3 separate regions of the Homo sapiens genome follow, and regions 1 and 2 are each linked to region 3. The links are contacts of gene promoters, found by promoter capture Hi-C in blood cells and fetal thymus (Javierre and others, 2016). All regions are on one chromosome and are shown on one strand. The core of a region is centred on a gene start or on the middle of the fragment in contact, and the rest is flanking DNA. Distances in the headings are between cores, read along the strand shown.

Region 1 (4,190 bases), core at 465-2,964, 530 kb after region 3:
ACCTAGATGATGGGTTGATAGGTGCAGCAAACCACCATGGCACATGTATACCTATGCAACAAACCTGCACATTCTGCAAATGCATCCCAGAACTTAAAGTAAAATTTTTAAAAAAAAGAGTGTGATGTTCCCCTTCCTGTGTCCATGTGTTCTCATTTGTTGTGGGGTGGGGGGACGGGGGAGAGATAGCATTGGGAGATATACCTAATGCTAGATGACGAGTTAGTGGGTGCAGCACACCAGCATGGCACATGTATACATATGTAACTAACCTGCACATTGTGCACATGTACCCTAAAACTTAAAGTATAATAACAATAAAGAAAGAAAGAAGGCATAGATGTTGCAGTTTTTAAATATTTGCTATTTAATGTTGTTTTATTTAAACAATGTAGATACACTGCTTTGATAAAAATAAAAATAAAATGTAAAAAAAAAAGAAATGCAGTTTTTCAGGCTCATCCCAGACTGGCTGAATCAGAAACTCTGAGGCTGGGGCTGGGATGCAGCAGCCTGTGTTTAGCATGTCCTTCAGGTGGTTTGGAGACCCACTGAGATAGAGGAAGATACAGGCATACCTCAGAGATAGTGCATGTTCAGTTCTAGACCACCACAATAAAGCAAATGTAACCATAAAGTGAGTCACACAAACTTTTTGGTTTTTCTGTGTATGTAAACATTATATTTACACTATACTATAGTCTATTAAGTGTACCATAGCATTATGGCCTAAAAACAATGTATATAACTTAATTTTAAAAATGCTTTATTGCTAAAAATGCTAAGGATCATCTGAGCCTTCAGCAAGTTATAATCTTTTTGCTGGTGGAAGGTCTTGCCTCAATGTTGATGGCTGAGGACTGATCAGGGTGATGATTGCTGCAAGTTAGTGTGGCTGTGGCAATTTCTGAAAATGAGACATCAGTGAAGTTTGCCGCATCAGTTGACTCTTCCTTTCATGAAAGATTTCCCTGTAGCATGTGATGCTGTTTGATAGCATTTTAACAGTAGAAATTCTTTCAAAACTAGGGTCAGTCCTCTCAAACCCTGCCACTGCCTTATTAACTAAATTGATGTAGTATTCCAAATCCTTTGTTGCCATTTCAGTGATGTTCACAGCATCTTCACCAGGAGTAGTTTCCATCTCAAGAAACCACTTTCTTTGTTCATGAATAAGAAGCAGTTCCTCATCCGTTCGTTTTGCCATAACATGGCAACAATTCAGTCACATCTTCAGGCTCCAATTCTAATTTTAATTCTCTTGCTGTTTCCAACACATCTATAGTTACTTCCTCTGCTGAAGTCTTAAGCCCCTCAACATCATACATGAGAGTTGGAATCAACTTCTTCCAAACTCCTGTTAATGTTGATATTTTGACCTCCTCTCTTGAATCACAAATATTGACATATAGAATAGTGAATCCTCTTCAGAAGGTTTTCAATTTACTTTGCCCAGATCCATCAGAGGAATCACTCTGTATGGCAGCTATAGCCTTATGAAATATATTTCTTAGGTAATAAGACTTGAAAGTCAAAATTAGTTTTTGATCCATGGGCTGTGGAATGGATGTTGTGTTGGCAAACACAAAAACATTAATCTCCTTGGACAGCTCCATCAGGGCTCTTGGGTGATCAGATGCATTGTCAATGAGCAGAAATATTTTGAAAGAAACCTTTTATTCTAAGCAGTAGGTCTCAACAGTGGGCTTAAAATATTCAGTAAACCATGTTATAAACAGATGCACTGTCGTCCAGGCTTTGTCGTTCCGTTTGTAGTGCACAGGCAGAAAAGATTTAGCATCATTCTTAAGTGCCCTAGGATATTCAGAATGGTAAATGAGCATTGACTTCCCACTTGAAGTCATCAGCTGCATTAGCTCCTAGCAAGAGAGTCAGCCCATCCTTTGAAGGTTTTGAAGGCAGACTCCTCCTGTCTAGCTATGAAAGATGCCGCCTCCCTAAACTTCATCATTTCTAGCTTTTTATTTAAAGGGAGAAACCTGCAACTTTTCCTTTCACTTGAACTCTTAGAAGCCACGGTAGGGTTATTAATTGGCCTAATTTCAATATTGCTGTGTCTCAGAAAATAGGTAGACCCAAAATAGGGAGAGAGATGGGGGAATGGCCAGTTGGTGGAGCCATCAGAACGCACGCAACGTTTATCAGTTAGGTTCCCCATCTTATCTGGGCATGGTTTGGTGCATCCCAGAACAATTACAACAGTAATATCAAAGATTACTGACCACAGATCACCATAACACATACAATAATGAAAAAGTTTGGCCAGCCGCAGTGGCTCACACCTGTAATCCCAGCACTTTGGGAGGCTGAGGTGGGCAGATCACTTGAGGTCAAGAGTTCGAGACCAGCCTGGCCAACATGACGAAACCCCATCTCTACTGAAATTACAAAAATTAGCCAGGCGTGGTGTGCCTGTAATCCCAGCTACTTGGGAGGCTGAGGCACGAGAATTGCTTGAACCCAGGAGGCAGAGGTTGCAGTGAGCCGAGATCACGCCACTGCACTCCAGCCTGGGCAGACAGCCAGATTCTGTCTCAAAAAAAAAGAAAAAGAAAAAATTTGTATTGTGAGAATTACCAAAATGTGACACAGAGACACATAAGCACATGCTGTTGGAAAAATTAGCACCAACAGACTTGCTCTAGGCAGGATTGGCACAAAACTTTAATTTGTAAAAAAAAAAAAAAAAAAAGAAAGAAAAAAGAAAAAAAAACGATATCTGGGAAGTATAATAAATTGAAACTCAATAAATCGAAGTGTGCCTGCATATATTTTAACAGCTGTCACCAGAATTCATCTTGCAGGAAAAAAAATGTCTTTACTTGGGAAACTACATTAAGAAGATCTTGGGTTAAAAGGTGGGACCCTAATGCCTTGATTTGGCTGGTAAGACATCAGAGGGTGAAAGGAGAGAAGGATTTGAAGTTCACAGGACAATCCTGGAAGGAAGGAATGAGGAGGAGAGAGACAGGAACCAGGAGCAGGGGCTCCAGGATGATGCTGAGAGGCTGTCGCTGTGAGGTGCAGTCCCAAATGCCAGCGTGAGCAGAGTTTTCCGTTGTGAAGGAAAGACCAGGTTTCATATAAAAGCAGATTGAGGCCAGGTGCAGTGGCTCACACCTATAATCCCAGCACTTTGGGATGCCCAGGCGGGCAGATCACGAGGTCAGGAGATCAAGACCATCCTGGCTAACACGGTGAAACCCCGTCTCTACTAAAAATGCAAAAAAATTAGCTGGGCTTGGTGGCGAGCACCTGTAGTCCCAGCTACTTGGGAGGCTGAGGCAGGAGAATGGCGTGAACCCGGGAGGAAGAGCTTGCAGTGAGCCGAGATTGCGCCAGTGTACTCCAGCCTGGGCCACAGAGCGAGACTCCGTCTCAAAAAAAAAAAAAGAGCGGATTGATAAAGGTAGTAGCAGCAGCATCCAAAGTCACAGAAGACCACAGTTCCAGGCAATATGCCAGATCTGGGGTATGTCGTGAAGATGGAGAAGTAGGGTCTAGGAAAGGTAGCCACAGAGAAAGTGGGGCACTGTCAGTTCTCAGGCCCAGGTCTGGCTGATCCAAAGACTTTCCACTGTACCCCAACCTCTCTGGGGCCAGAGCAAACTATCAGGAAAATAAGTTTAGGAAGAGAAGAGAAAGGGATGCAAAGAATCCAGGAGGAAGGGCCTGTTTCAACAAAAGCAGATAGGATGTGTGTCACAGCCTGGGCCAGCACTGTCTCCCTCCATTCATTCCCCCGCAGAAAACCAGAGGCTCCTTCTTTGGAAAAAAAATAAAACTCCAGAGAAAAGACTTACAGAAACTGAACTGAGGTGGTTGTACCATGCAAAAAGCCGGTTTTCCAACCTGCCCATCCACGTAGCACCTTCTATCAGCTTTTTAGTGTCTCGTCATAAAATATAAACAAAAGGATGACCAGATACTTGAAGGAAGCTTCCAATATTAAAGACAAAGTAAAACAAGCAAACAAACAAAACAGTAAAAAAGGAAATTGAAGAAAACAGAAATAATGCAGAATCCAAAACTGTATATATATATATTTTTTAAATAACCTCAGAGTGGGAGAGATGTATATACATATAGCAGTTATAGCCATGAAACAAGAACTAAATGTTATAAAACAGGAGCAAACAGAGAAAAAAAATGACTTTTTGGAGAAAAAA
Region 2 (4,680 bases), core at 693-3,192, 520 kb after region 3:
AGCCACTTTTCATGTTTCTTTCTTCTTTCTTTAACTCTTACACAATTAATACTACATGCTTAGGTAGAATGTGGTTTGGGTCTCAATGCCATCCTATGCCAGGTGTACCTTTGAGCAAGTTTCTTTCTCTGAGCCTCAACATCCTCATCTGTAAAATGAGGGTAACAATTCTTAGCTCACAAGGTTGTTGTGAAGATGGAATAAACTACATTCAGCACTTTGGTGTAGTCTTAAACATTGTGAACACTCACTAATGCCACTGTGACTGTTGAGACCTAACCCTGTCCTTCAGGAGCTGACTTAATTCTTGATTAGGGCTCAATCTTAATCAAACACATCTTAAATTACCCCTAAAATTCTTTGGGACTGAATCTTTTTATTAATACTTCTTAGGTTGGTGGAAACATTTCCTTGGAGGGATTCTTTTCAAAGGCTGCCCCTCCTTTGCTTCCTCCACAGAGACCTGTACCTGACACGAAAGAGATGGACAGAGTACCAGGGAGCAGCAGTTCCCAGCTCCTGTCAGACTCTCTCTGTCCTAAAGTTGTCACAGCTATTTTCACATTGTCCACCTGGACAGCCAACCAAGCATTCCCTACCCTCCTGGGTGAGATCTGAGAATGAGAAACACCATGCTTCACAAGGATGCTCTCCATGGAATTCTCCCCAGGCCCTAAAATGAATGAAAAAAAATGTGATCTGAGCCACATGGGGACGTTTCCATCTTTCCTTATGGTGGATTTTTAAGCATCAAGTATCCAAGGGTTTGCTCCCATCTGTAACGAAACTAGCTGCGCTCTGGGATACAGATGGGGTTTCACTTCTCACTCTACTGTGGGCTCCATTGGTCAGGTCTGGGCAGCAGTGAGGGGGTTGAAGGGATAGCCCCTTGGACTGAAACCCAGCTCTGCACAGCCAAGACATGCTTCTGGTTCACTCACCCTCCCTTTTTCTCCTCATCCACTTCCTCAAAGGCACCAACACAGTGGTTAAGTGGACCTGTGTCACGCAGCTTGGCAGTTTACCAGCTCTGAGACTTTAGGCATAGCTTCTAACCCCCTGAAGCTTAAAATCTTCCCATCTGTAAAATGGAAAACGTGATTCTATCTGCTTCATCAAATCCTTGTAAGGATTAAATGCAACCAAGCATATATGTTTAGCAAAGCTTCTGACATCTAGTGAGCTCTTAATAAAGGTGCTCTATTCTTTTTAGATAAAATAGAAATAATAATATCCACCTTAGAGGATTGCTGAAATGGTTCAAAGAAAAAAGGTATGTGAAAATTCCCAGTTCAGGTTTGACATTTAGTAGAATCAAGGATGATTTCAGAAATATTATAACCACTGTTGGCAGCAATCTAAAAGGAGATGTGGAAACGGCCACAGAGACAGACTGCTACATCCCAGCTGAATATCAGCACTTAATGGAAAATACTAAATAAATGTGATTAATTTTTTAAAAATGAAGTTAGGTTGTTCATCCTTTCCACCATCTTGTACAGAACAGGAACTCCAAAACAAATAGAAAGATGAGAATGCCACAAGAGACGTTCAGATATGCGGCTGTGGGTTATTCCATGGAAGGCAAAATCCATCCCAGGGGGATTAGCTTCTAGAGAGGATTCCAGGAGGTGGGGAATATCACCTGGGTTTTGAAGCCCAACTAGAATTTGGCCATGCAAAGATGAGAAAGAAAGCACTACACATGTGAACAAACATTTTGTGAGTGACAACGCAGTTTGACAGAAGCATAGGGCAAGTGACAAAGCAGTTTGATAGAAGCACAGGATGTTTGCAGAAGATTAGAAAGAGGTAAGCTACAAAAAAAAGTGAGGCTGAGAACATGGCAGCCTTGAATGCCAGGCTAAAGAGCTGAGGCTTCATTTTGTAGGCACTGTCTGCTCCCCAGCACCCAGCGATGCAATCACTCATTGCTGGTGCTCAATAACTAGTGAGTGAATGGTGGCATGTCCTTAAATAAGGCAGGATCTGGATTGTGAAGAAATAAATCCATATCCCACTCACAGTCCTCTCATTGCAGACATCAGCAATGATGCTTGTTGAATGGAACTGGTTGTAGAACCAAGTGGTTGGGCCCTTGACATCACAGTTTATTTCTGGCACCTTCAATCCATCTTTATGAACATTCATGGACTGTCATCCCCCCAGGCAACCCCTCCAATTCTCCCATCACCAATCCTCAGCCCTCTCTTTCCATGCCACTGACACCAGAGCTCAAGGCCTCATCTTACTTTTTGTTGGAGCTCCTTAATGGTCTCAAAGTGTGAGCAGTAATTGGAGCATATGTCAGGGCACTGCCGTTTGCTCCACTGCTGGCTCTCAGCACCACCCCTGCTTCTCATTCTCCTGCTCCAACTGCTGCAACTTCTGCAAGCAGTTGGCCAGGCACTCACTTAAGAACTGCATGATCCCTTTCCCACTGCTGCTGAGGATGTCTTCACTGAACCAGCCACAGGTGCCCATACTGGCAGGGATGTTCCTGGTCCCTGGCAGAGGACAGGCAGAGTGACTGCTGGCAGGGCCAGGCTGGACTGACTGTGAGCCACAGGTTCTAAGGAGATGGCTACTAGGTTGGTGACTCTCTTACAGGTGGGCCCCAGTCTTAATACTGGGATCTACAGACATTGGGTACAGAGTTTCTAGAGTGGTTTCTGGCCACAGCCTGTCTGGAGCAAGGAGGCTTCAAATGGCTCTTGCCAAAGCTTGAGGAGCAGGGATTTCTGCTTTAACTAGAAGCCATGGTCCTAGACAGTTGAGTTGCAGATTGGTGACAAGGGCCAGGTGCTCAGGTGTGAGTGTTTCCTCACCCAGAGCTTTTATTCACCTGCCATAGGAGCAGATGTGATACACAAGCTTTCCCCCAATGAATCCTCATTTGTTCTGCCATCAGAACAACCCATCAGCAGTTATTCAGTCCTCAGAAGTAGCTCCCCACTTTATGAAAGAAAGGGCTGACTTTGGACTTCTTGTTACTGCCTTCTGTTGTGAAAAGAAATGTTAAATGTTTTCTCTTTAGAGATGCCCCATTGAAAAGTTAGACTTTGTTCCTTGAGTGACTATCTGGCCTCTCTCTAGGAATGGCATTGGCTCTAAGATGAATCGTCCTCTCCACTGACCTTCAATACCCAAAAAAGTAAAATTCTCTGATAAGAGCCTCAGGAATCCCTAAAGAGCAATAGAGCAAAGACTGCTAAGTTATTAGAACTAAAGAAAACTTCCAAGTACTAATTCAACCTTTCGTGCTTCAGAGACCAGAGAAGGACAGTGAGCTCCCCAGGGATGCCAAGCAAGTCAGATACAGAGCCAGGACTGGTCCCAGGGCCCCTAGCACATTCTGTTTCCTCTGCACCAAGATGGACAAGCTTTTTCTGTTAAAAAGACAGATGCTAAATATTTTAGGCTTTGCAAGTCGTATACTCTCTTTGTACTGCAACTACTTAGCTCTGCCATTGTAGCACAAAGCAGACATAGACAACAGGGAAATGAATGGGTGTGGCTATGCTCCAATAAAACTTGATTTACCAAAACAAGTAGCAGTGGGGTTTGACCTGTGAGCTGTAGTTGCCATCCCTGCTTCACACAGCACAGTGAATGAGGCTTAAAAATTGGACCCCTTAAGCATGTGGGAGACCTTCAGTCCGCTCTGGAGCCAGAGGGCTGGGCAGAGGGAGGGCACCTGGGAATGGATGGTGAACTCCAGGACTGGACGCTGAGCCTCAGACACCAGGGCCTTCACTCTACCAGGGCATTTACACCAAGACTGGAAGTTCATCCAATGCTCTTAGAGCAAAGCAAAGCTACCCATATGTTGTTGTTGCTGCTGCTGCTGCTGCTGTTGTTGTTTCTGAAACTTGGGCTTCAGAATGGCTCCAAAATATGACTCAGCTGCCATTGTAATTGGGGAAAGTCAGAAGAGAAGAGAAATTTGTTGCCAAAGCATGTTTTCTTTACTCAACATTCATCAGGCACCTACAATATGCCAGGCATCATGACAGGCATTTTTATATGTACTATATCCCAACAACTCTGTGAAAAAGGTAGAATTACTCCCATTTCTAAAGGGGAGAAGACTGAGATGCATAGAGATTAAGAGTTCTGCCAAAATCACACAGCACATTAGCAGCAGAACTGGGGGTCTAGCCCAGTTTTTCTGAAGCCAAAGGCACTGATCTTCTCCATTAATCCTAGATGCTCATTGGTGACTTTGTTTACATATTATGATTAAGGGACACTGCTATTTAAATACAAATTTGTCTTGATCAGTTGGGCAAAAAGATAGACATCAAATGATCTTAGGAACTTTCTGTTTAGCCGAATTGATATCATTGCATTCAAGTGTTACATTTTATGAAATACAGGCCGGGTGCAGTGGCTCACGCCTGTAATCCCAGCAGTTTGGAAGGCCAAGGTGGGTGAATCACCTGAGGTCAAGAGTTCGAGACCAGCCTGGCCAACATGGTGAAACCCCATTTCTACTAAAAATACAAAAATTAGCCAGGCATGGTGGCATGTGCCTGTGGTCCTAGCTACTCAGGAGGCTGAGGCACAAGAATCACTTGAACCCAGGAGGCAGAGGTTGCAGTGAGCCAAGATCATGCCACTGCACTCCAGCCTGGGCTACGGGGCGAGACTCTCTCTCCAAAAGAAAAAAAAATTATG
Region 3 (4,199 bases), core at 1,328-3,827:
TTATTAAACAAAAAAACATGATGAGGACTGTTGAGTCACCTTGTTTTTTTTTTTTTTTCATAAAGACAACCATGCACTATATAGTTAAGGTAATTACAGTCAGTTATTAGGTTGATTATTCAATAATTAGGGTTCATTACAAGGACAGATTTATATTATCTTGACTGGTCCTTCCTACATTCAAGCAAGGATGACTGAGCATTGTGAAATAATATATATAAATATTGGAAACTTGTGATACCCTTTCTAGGGGAGGTTAAATCATGGTCTTACAGGGAATTTTCTGGGACTGCTTTATATAAGAGGGGAGTTAGATAGCTTTAAAACATAACCTATGAGATGATTGGATTCCTTCTACTTCTAGCTAATGTTATGAGACATCCCAGAAGGTATTTGCTTAGCTTTTTTGAGGTTTGGTTAAAGAGTTCGGTTTTTTTTGAACAAGGTCTTTATAGCCATCTCAACTCTCAGATTCTAAAAATTATGCTCATTTTATTATTATTGGTTCTAGCAATATGCCATTGTCAGAACTGTGAGCAACTTTACTGCAAGCAACCCACAAACGGAAATATCTAGGGATGTCATGATGACCTATATGCTGGTGTGGTGACAACTTTTAGGCATAATCTTCAAAATAGTGTAACAGCCTTTTGTCGATGGATAACCACATTGTTCAAAAAAGTTTGAGGTGGAGCAGAACTGAGGTAATGAGAAAGTAAACACTCTCTTATGCCTGGTGCACTGAGCATGCAGCATGAACACCAGCCCTTATCATTTCTATGACATCGTTGGGTCATAAGTGACATTAAACAGCAGCTGGTTGCCTCACATTTTAAAGATGTTTTTGGTCTGTGAGAAATCAGTAGTCTCATTTTTGAAACAGTCTGTAGCACTTCTATCATTTTTGCTGCCTTCTTTTTCTACATTATCCATGGACAGTAGACTAATTAAACAAAACAGACGTTTCCCACTCCAAATTTAAGATATAATAAGAAAACATCCCCCAAAACCTTTGTGCACAATTACTTCAAGCGCTGATGCCATTTTCCTGGAAATTGTCTTCTGGACTCATTTTTCCTCCCGAGGGTCCCCTGGCAAAGCAGCCCCATCTGGATCTCCAGGGTCACCCAGCATCTTACCTGCTCCTGCAGGTGTGTGATGTTTTCCTCATACTGGGAATAATCTTTCTTACTGCCAGGATCTCTCTGCTGGTGCCATTTCAGGATGCGGCTTTCCAGCTTCATGTTGGCCTCCTCCAGGGCGCGAACCTTCTCCAGGTAGGAGGCCAGGCGGTCGTTGAGATTCTGCATGGTGGCCTTCCCATTTCCGCCTAGTAGGGGGCTGCTTCTTCCAGAACCCCAAGACCCTCCAGGGGGTGGGCAGCTCCGCGTGGTGAAGGACAGGGAGATGCGGGCTCCCCCCGCACCGCCATGGACGGTGGGAGCCCTGGGGAAGCTCCTGGGCCGGCCCCAGCCACCTCCGGCGCCATGGAAGGAGGCCGAGGGGGTCTGGCTGAAGCTGTGTCCGGAGTTCATGGTCCCATCTGTGTTTGGGACGGGGCTGAGCTCTGCTCCACTCCCTGGCACCGCAGAACTGAGCCGCCCCAGACTGCCCTGGATGGTTTTATGGCCTTTGCTGTGGGAGTTCCCTTCTCTGACAATTGTACCAACAAGATTGTATCATTGTGCAACTTGTGTTTCCTCTTGGTCAATCCCAAAGTGCCCCTGGGCCTTCGCACACTGTTGTTGTTTAGAGCCACATCAATATGACAGTTTGCTTCCTCCCTTCCCCTGGTAACCCGGAGGTGTGGCCCACGACATCAGGCGGGTATTGGGCTCAGGTATCTTTCTAATCTTGCCGTGAAGTTTTTCCATTGTTCATTTACCTGGAATGGGTTAGGTTAAAGTCCACCCAAAAGAAAGCATATTCGATGTAGTATAGATTTCCTTAAAAAAAACCAAAAACCAAAACCAAAACAAAACAACAACAACAGCAACAAAAAACCAGACATTAAACAACAGAGATACACACACCTTTTTCCACCCCCAATAAGCCCCACCTCTAAAGGGAGGGTGAGCGAGCCTGGAGAAGGGAAAGCCAGCTCAGAACAGGATCTCAGGTCCCAGAATAAAGCTTGCTGTGCTGAGGCAGCCGAGAAGGTGGTGAATATCTGATGCCTTTGTGGCAGTCACTGTTTGAAGGAAAGTACTTTCAAAGGACTCGCTCTTAAGAACAAACCCTCAATTATAGATGTAATTAATTAATGAATGACCGAACCTTCCACTTCCAGGGTGCCTTTCATCCCAGCACACCTCAAAACCAAACAACCCTGGCCTGCGCTCAGGATTTCCCTTGGCCCTGGGGGAGGAATGTAGCCGTTGTTAGCAGCCCCGGACCCCGGCTGAGCCTGCCACGGCTGGGCTCTGTGTGTCTGTGACCTGCAGAGGGACGATGGAAAACAGGAAACCTGCCATGGGCTGTCAAATGTGGTTGATGAATCTTATATTTCATCTGCCAAGGTAAAGGTTAGGAATGAATAAAGAAGCAGTCTGGGGGCGGGAGCCACGTGCTAGTTACTGGCAGTTGGATTTAAAGGGGACTTACAAATAAAATATCAGCGCAGGAAGGGCTTCTGGCCTTTCTGGTTCCAAGCCACTAATTGGACAGATGAGGAAAGCTGAGGCCTATGGTGGTGGGGAGGTTAGTGGCAGAGCCAGGGCTAGATTCTTTCTCCACATAGCACTGTTATCTTGGGTTGAATCTTGACAGGTCCTGTACCACACTTCTCTTTCATAATAATAGGACTTGCCAATTGGTGTAGCTCTTTTATATTCTTTATTGAATCCTCACAACTCTTTATGTATCCAGGCAAGGGTTGTTGTCTTCATTTTGCAGACAAAGAATCAGGGTCTCATAGGGATGAATGATCCAGAGCTGATTCGCATGTACAGTGTAATTGAGCACATGAATTCATAGGTGACACTGCCCGAGTCTGTGCTGTCCTCCCTGCCTGGAAAGTCACTCACCCCTACCTCTTCTATAGTTCAAGGGCTACCTCCTTCAACAATCATTTTCTGAATTCTCCTGCATGAGTTGGGTGACCCTCTAGGAGGAAACTGCCTCTTCTGGATGCCGAGGTCCTCCAGAGGGGCAGACACCTTGGCATCCCACCTCATGGTGGAAGCTGGGAGCCCCTAGCCAGGCGCAGCCACCTCCTGTGCCTGGGATGAAGTCCACTCCGTTCTTTCACTCCATTATACTGCATTTGCCACACCCTTCTGAGACCGCAGGCTTCTTGAAAGCAGAGTTTATGTCTTCCATTTTTGAGCACCAAAGTCTGGTTTCTTGGTGGTATTTTGCAAATGTATGTTGACTCAATCATAAACTTTTTAGAGTCAGGATTTTAACACAGGTCTCCTGATGCCATCAACTTCTGCTCCTTTTAGGACTGTGAGTTATAGAACTAGAAAGTAGGAAAACGCCTCTCCTGGGTATAGATTAACCATCCATGAAGGCCAATCTTTTCCAATTACAAATAAAGCCACCCAAAAGCACACCAGCTCTGCTCCTCCCAGTCTTACAACAAAACCTTATCAGGGAAGAGTCTCTGAATATTTTTTATTTCACTGTGCACGAGCTGGAAAAATGAGCCTCCAAGCCTCAGGGAAGCTTGGAGAGTGCTTAGAAAGAGTGCCGACAGTCACTTACATCTCAGATATGAGAAAAAGACAAAAGAGACAAGTGATAAAAATAGAGCAAATGAGGGAACTAGAGAGACTTGTTTGGCGAGTGGTGGCAACCAGTGTTCTGTGGATGTGGACGGTTCCTGGTCATCAAAGTTATGGTCAGCTCTGGTTCCTGTTCGCCTGGACCCAGACTTACCAAGGAAGAAAACATTTACCTTTAGCATGTGCAAGGGCCGGGCTGCACTGCCTTTTTCTAAATTCTCTCACCAGAATCTACAATGAAATTAATGCTTCTCTAATTATTTCAGGCATGTCTGAGTGGCAGTGACTTATCAACCCCATAGATTTGGCCACTGTCTCATTTTATGTCCATGTGTGGGAGTTTTGATTTATAGGACTTATCCTTGAGCAAAAGATTTCTTGTGTCATAGCAGGACCAGGGCCAGGAAAAACTGGTGGTGAGATCTGAGAGCACTGGGGAGAAATAGTCTCTTCTAGTACTGTTATATGATG

Evidence for each region. The method cuts DNA at HindIII sites, captures the fragments that hold promoters and counts their contacts. A CHiCAGO score of 5 or more calls a contact.
Region 1: a fragment that was not itself captured here is called in contact with the fragment with the promoter of KRT23 in region 3 in 4 of 17 cell types (naive CD8 T cells, activated CD4 T cells, total CD8 T cells and 1 more); the score reaches 8.0 in naive CD8 T cells.
Region 2: a contact is called between a fragment that was not itself captured here and the fragment with the promoter of KRT23 in region 3, in 10 of 17 cell types (activated CD4 T cells, total B cells, naive B cells and 7 more). The highest score is 8.2, in activated CD4 T cells.

The regions. Positions count from the first base shown.
Region 1 is chr17:41,470,226-41,474,415 of GRCh38, forward strand. No RefSeq gene overlaps it. Among named protein-coding and RNA genes, the nearest start is that of KRT32, 4.9 kb to the left of the region's middle. The HindIII fragment of the contact is 4,488 bases long and covers 1-3,958 here.
Region 2 is chr17:41,451,515-41,456,194 of GRCh38, forward strand. No RefSeq gene overlaps it. Among named protein-coding and RNA genes, the nearest start is that of KRT38, 13 kb to the left of the region's middle. The HindIII fragment of the contact is 1,558 bases long and covers 1,164-2,721 here.
Region 3 is chr17:40,935,069-40,939,267 of GRCh38, forward strand. KRT23 (keratin 23) reads right to left here and starts at 2,578. Exons shown (of 9, transcript NM_015515.5): 1 at 2,278-2,578; 2 at 1,140-1,885. The coding sequence starts at 1,535. All of the region lies in intron 1 of LOC107985072 (a long non-coding RNA gene), which reads left to right. The HindIII fragment of the contact is 1,536 bases long and covers 2,132-3,667 here.